Regions from separate parts of the Homo sapiens genome. Here region 1 is linked to region 2. Evidence: promoter capture Hi-C in 16 types of primary human blood cells and fetal thymus (Javierre and others, 2016). All regions are on one chromosome and are shown on one strand. The core of a region is centred on a gene start or on the middle of the fragment in contact, and the rest is flanking DNA. Distances in the headings are between cores, read along the strand shown. Region 1 holds the start of STMP1 (short transmembrane mitochondrial protein 1). Region 2 holds the start of IFT56 (intraflagellar transport 56).

The links. The method cuts DNA at HindIII sites, captures the fragments that hold promoters and counts their contacts. A CHiCAGO score of 5 or more calls a contact.
Region 1: the fragment with the promoter of STMP1 here is called in contact with the fragment with the promoter of IFT56 in region 2 in 1 of 17 cell types (total B cells); the score reaches 6.9 in total B cells.

What each region holds. Positions count from the first base shown.
Region 1 is chr7:135,661,141-135,664,081 of GRCh38, reverse strand. STMP1 (short transmembrane mitochondrial protein 1) reads right to left here and starts at 1,568. Exons shown (of 3, transcript NM_001130929.2): 1 at 1,488-1,568. The coding sequence starts at 1,502. RefSeq lists enhancers at 1-309, 310-834 and a silencer at 1,474-1,693. The HindIII fragment of the contact is 1,162 bases long and covers 1,182-2,343 here.
Region 2 is chr7:139,132,053-139,135,215 of GRCh38, reverse strand. It overlaps IFT56 (intraflagellar transport 56), which reads right to left and starts at 1,438. Exons shown (of 18, transcript NM_024926.4): 1 at 1,356-1,438; 2 at 424-561. The coding sequence starts at 1,358. RefSeq lists enhancers at 1,422-1,601, 1,319-1,613. The HindIII fragment of the contact is 9,761 bases long and covers 1-1,783 here.

The DNA of each region.
Region 1 (2,941 bases), core at 319-2,818, 3.5 Mb after region 2:
GGAGCAGCCCTGTCTTAGCTGGGCAGATTAAGGACACTCTTTTGACTAATTGGATTTAACAATCCATTACCATCTTTCAAAAGGACAAAAGGGGTGCATTTTGTGTTTTAATCTCTTTGATAAAGATACAGCATTTGGGGCCGGGCGCGGAGGCTCACGCCTGTAATCCCAGCACTTTGGGAGGCTGAGGCAGGCAGATCCCGAGGTCAGGAGATCGAGACCATCCCGGCCAACGGGGTGAAACCCCGTCTCTACTAAAAATACAAAAATTAACTGGGCCTGCTGGCGCGCACCAGCTACTCGGGAGGCTGAGGCAGGAGAATCGCTTAAACCCAGGAAGCGGAGGCTGCAGTGAGCCGAGATCGCACTACTGCACTCCAGCCTGGCGACAGAGCGGGACTCCGTTAAAACAAACAACAAAAAAAGATACAGCATTTGAGCCGGGAGCAGTGGCTCACGCCTGTAATCCCAGCACTTTCGTAGGCTGAGGTGGGTTGATCACTTGAGGTCAGGAGTTCGAGACCAGCCTGGCCAACTTGGTGAAACCCGTCTCTACTAAAAATACAAAAATTAGCTGAGCATCCTGGTGCGCGCCTGTAATCCCAGCTACTCCGGAGGCCGAGGAGGGAGAATCGGTTGAACCCGGGAGGCGGAGGTTCCAGTGAGCCCAGATTGCGCCACTGCACTCCAGCCTGACGACACAGCGAGACTCCGTCTCAAAAAAAATAAAAAATAAAAAAAAATAGAGGTTGAAAGCATCAAGTTTTGAATGCACAATAGCTTGGCAGAAAAACTTTCACTTGAAAATTTGATGAGCAACTCCTGGAACCTTCACCAAGCAATTTTTGAAATATACCGAGTTTTGCCAGAAAACTCGTTTTTAACTCAAATAAGGAGCCAAGAGAAATAGTCTGCTTACTCATGCTTACACATTTTGGGAAAAATTACTTGTATACCAGTGTCTGACTCATTCCTCCAACTCTGAAAGGTCTGATGAGGACTTAGCCTCTCGGACTTCGTGAGGTGGCTAATTTACGGTTTATTCCTGGCCTTCCTACCTCCTCAGAAAAGCCAACTAGCAGGGCTCCACAGCAGGGACCGGCCGGCGACCATGTAATGGAACAGGAGCGCAGAAAGAAAGGGGGGCGGACTACGAAAAGTCATCAAGGACCACACAAGCTTTAATACAAAGATTGCACAATGAGCGCGGGGCGCGGCACACAATAAGAAGCTCTGGAAACGCACACTCTCTGACACCTCAAAGTTTTAGGGACTTGGATGGCTGCAGAAAAATATTGGCAAAGGGATTTTCTGGGGAGGCAGGAAGAAAACGGCCGCCCTGCGAGGCGACGACCAGGCGCGGGGGACGAAGGGACCGCTGGACCCACGCCCAGGCCGGGTCGGCGGGGTCGGCAATCCTCAAGGGGGAAATGGGGTCCGAGGCACGCCCCAGGCAGCGGGCCCCGCTCTTCGGCAGCTCCACTCACCAGGAACTGGAGCATGATGTCGGTGGGGAGGGCGAGGAGGGCGCGAAGGACTGCAGCAGCTCCGCGGGCCGGTCCGAGCCTACCTCCCCATGCGCGGGGGGGGCGGAACCCCTCGTCGACTTCCGGGTCACGCCACGCCCCGCCCCGCTCCTCCCACTCAGCCCGCGCCCGGAAACGACTTGCAGTGTCGCAGCGCCCAGGTTCCCCCTGGCGGAGCGCGTTGGCCTCACCGCCTGAACCGGCGGGGCAGCGAGCGCGCGACAGGACTTGCGAAGAGCAAGTCCCGAGCCTGGCTGGGCATCCTTGAGCATCCCGCCTCTGTAAACCTGGGCCGAGGCCCAGGAATCTATATTATTCTCAGCACGCGGACTATTCTGATACACAGCCCAGTTTAGGGCTCTCTAACCTAGAAGGACGGCATGAGCAGCGGGTCCCATCCCTAGGTTCGCAGCTGAATCGTGGGGGCTTTTGCAGCATCCTCTACTTGGGCCCAGCTGGACTTTGCGGGGAGGAAAGGAGGCTTGTAGCTCTCAAAGCTCCGCAGGTGTGCTGTGTAATCAGCGTTGTGTAATCAGGTGTTGTGTAATCAAGGTAGAGGCTGGGTACCGTATGGGGCCCATGCTGCCGTGTGCCGCACGCCAGTCACTGAGATGATGAGTTTTGTAGCAGAGAAAAGGTTTATTCACCAGGCAGCCAGCCGAGGAGACGGGAGAACAGATCTCAAATCTGCCTCCCCAAAGATGGGTTTTAGGGATATTTATGGGATAGAGGAGCAGGGTGGTCTGAGGTGTGGGGAAAGGCGGTTGAAGGTAAGGAAAAGTTTGGCAATGGGTTATCTGCGCGAGGTAGTCAAGCTTCATGGCTCTTTATAGGATACATGGTCACAAAATGACATCCTTAGCATGATCTGAGTGTGGAGGTTTTGGCCCTCTAATGTCAGAAGGACACCCATCGGGCTTTCATGCAGGCCCAGTTGAGAGGTTGGTGGTTTAAACTGTACAAGAACTGACCCCAACTTCCTGAAAAACAAGAAACCTTTATCAAGCAACCCAGATGTCAGAGATGTTATCCATAAGGAAGATAGTGGGAGCTTAGATATATATTGTTTAGCTCTGTGACTTTAGCTATGTGGGTTTTTTAATCCACTAAAAGCAGGTGACTAAAAACAAGTGAGAGAAGTTGCATTTGGCAGGCCTCATCAGGTTGGCTCTCAGTTTCACTGGCCTAGCTGGGTTTCTTGCCTGGGATGGCCATAGGTCCTGTTGACAATTTGTATCATCGCCACAAAGAGTCTGTTCTGTCAGTCTTCCGGTCTGTGTATGTGTGTGTTTTTTTCTCTCTTTCTCTTTTAAAGAATTTATTTTAAGCCTATTATACCACACAGTATGTTTTAAACACTAACTCCCTAATAAGATATATAACTCCCTAATAAGATAAAGCAAAGACAAAAAAAG
Region 2 (3,163 bases), core at 189-2,688:
CCTCCGCCTCCCGGGTTCAAGCGATTCTCCAGCCTCAGCCTCCCGAGTAGCTGGGACTACAGACACGTGCCACCATGCCCAGCTAATTTTTGTATTTTCAATAGAGACGGGGTTTCACCATGTTGGCCAGGATGGTCTCGATCTCTTGACCTTGTGATCTGCCCGTCTCGGCCTCCCGAAGTGCTGGAATTACAGGCATGAGCCACCGCGCCCGGCCAAGTTTAGTTTTTTAGTTCGTTTTTTATCAGGTTTATAGCTAACTTGGAATCTGGAATCTGTGCCTGACTAGATTTACAGGGGATTTGTACAGGAAGCCCCAGAATGCACCCACCTATTTCAAGAGCATAGCAAACAGCATTCACCCAAGCATTCATCTACAGTCTGGTATTCATACACTAAGAAGCAACGTTCTTTGGGCATTACCTCCAACAGGGTAATAGCTCCAGTGAAATCTCTTTTTGAAAGTAGCTCCTCTAGTTTTGGAATCTTCCTACCTTTCTTCTTTCTTTTGTCAGTGTGCTGTACGCCTCTGCCTACAGCAGGTTTGGCCCTTGAAAGCATCTGTAAAAGAAACAAAGACAGCTGTATGGTCCAATTCTGATTATCAGATTTAAACTGAGAGTGACAGCTCTGTAATTTATAAGTCAAGGCCGGGCACAGTGGCTCATGCCTGTAATCCCAGCACTTTGAGAGGCGAAGGCGGCGGATCACGAGGTCAGGAGTTGGAGACCAGCCTGGTCAATATGGTGACACCGCATCTCTACTAAAAATACAAAAATTAGCCGGGCGTGGTGGCATGCGCCTGTAGTCCCAGCTACTCGGGAGGCTGAGGCAGAAGAAACGCTTGAACCTAGAGGCAGAGGTTGCAGTGAGCCAAGATCGCGCCACTGCACTCCAACCTGGGCGACAAAGCGAGCCTCCATCTCAAAAAAAAAAAAAAAATTATAAGTCAAATCCTTAACAACGAACCCCAGGGAAGCCTATTCAAACTCGTTTTGTAACAGGTATTCTACTAGAAGAGCCATCAGCCAATACTTAGGAAGGACCAAACAGCTACTCCCAACTTTTATCTTCTCTGGCTAGAGATGCTTTCGCATTGCTTCTGTCATCTCAGCTTTCCCTTCCTCTGCTTCCCATCCCACGAGTGGTTTAAATGTGAGTAAACGGAAAAGCAGGAGGGAAGAAAGCACCGAGGTATTTACAGTTGCATCCCTGTCCCCCGTGGGAACACAGGGAGAGCTGGGGATTACTCTCTGCGGACACACCTAGACTTCACACAGAAGTGTGCTGGGAACCTCTAATCGCCAGCCTCAGGACCTACTCAAAGTACTCCCTTACTATTCAGAGCCACTAACCATCTTGACGTCGGTCTTGTGAGTCCCCACCACACAGCGAAGGCCGCGCCTCAGCGTTTCGCCGCATCCACACAGCACGTTCTGTCTCCACGGTAACCCCGCCTGGACGCTGGTACGAACGGGAGAAAAGCTCGTTGGAGAACCAGCGCCCGCGGCTTCTTGGTTCCGTGCAGCTTCTGCCGCGGAAGAGCCGAGGTTCCTCTTGGGAGGAGAGCGTCGTTCTCTGGGCTGAGAGCGAAAGTTTGGTTGTCTCTATTTATGAGTTTACTTTAGGAAAAGGCGAATTGGAATGGCATTGTTTTTCAAATGCAAGTTTTCTGGGAAAGAAATTTTCAGGGACCACTTCTGTTTGGGGCCGTGTTGGACTCCATAGCAACCCTTGACTATGTGCACCGCAGAATCTTGGTCTCTGGCTGGTGCGGGAAGCTTAGAAAATTTCTGCTGAAGGAGTTGTAGTTCTGTGATTTGGAAGCAGGAGTGCACCAAAATACAGTTTCCTATTTCCACAGATACACCTACACACAATAGAGAACTGTAATAAATATTTGTCGATTGGATGACTTAATTTATCTATCTTACTCCTGAACCCAGTTAATACAGGGGCAACCACAGTCTTTAAATTCACGAAATCGTGGAATGTTAGAGTTGGAAGGGACCTTACAGGACCTCTGGTCAACCCCTCAGAATTAACAGACTGAAGAACTAACATCTTGTTAGTTAACTAATGTCAGCCTAAAATAACCAAAAAGCTCAGGGATCCAGTTGAAAGAGTTTATTCAAGTGCAAAGTGTGAGGGCGGCTATCCCGGGAACCACTGACAGCAAAGAATGGTGATCAGTGCTCCCTGATGCAGGGAAAGGTGAGGGTCATTTATATCACCAAAAACAGGAGTGCTGTACGTAATTACAGCATTTTCTAGATGAGGCTAACGTACACAGAAGATTCAATTCACTACTATTGATTACACTGTAAGGGGGTTGTTTAATATTCTATTGTAAAGAGGTAACAATCACAAGGGTCTCTATCTCCAACGTCATTTAGTCTGAATAAAGAATAAAAAATCTGGTTAATATATAACATCAACACAAAGATCAGGAAGCAACAGTCATGCACCAGAGAAGAAAAACAGCCATGTTCTGTGATTTAGTTTACAGGGCTTAACTTTTCCCCTTGGCATAGTACGTTTGGAAAGTGCTGAAATTTTCTTTTCACATTTTCCCCTTTTCTTCAAAAGCTTTCAGAGAAAGCATTATAGAAGAATTATATTCTCAGGCCGTGTATTTGATCAAACCTCATGTCACTAGGAAGGCCCCTTCCTGGCAGTCACATCCCAGGGAGGAGGGGAAATTGGAAAGGACCAAGTCCGAATTATAAAGCAACAAGAGAAAGTAGTTCTGGAACCTGATTCAGGCTACACGGCTGCCTCTTCAATCAAACAATTCTCTGAGTAGTCTTTGTTCTACACATTTTCTCAGCTGTGTGTTGACCCAATTGCAGATAAATACCATAACAGCTCTGCAGACAAAGGCAAGACAAAACACAAACTATGATAATTCCTAAAATACATAACAGCTTTTGCCACCAAGTTCCCCAAGATCCAAATCAATTACTTAACCAGTAGCTTAGAGAGGGTTTTGGATCCGAAAGGTTAATTATTAGAGTTTTTCAAATCAGTTATTAATTTGGTGACGTTATTTGATTCATCTGGGATATAAACACAGCATTCAGTTTCTGTCATAGCACAGATTCCTCCTTGGGCTGCAGTGAGTATGTCTAAGACCATACAGTTTTGTAATACAGTCTTCTCA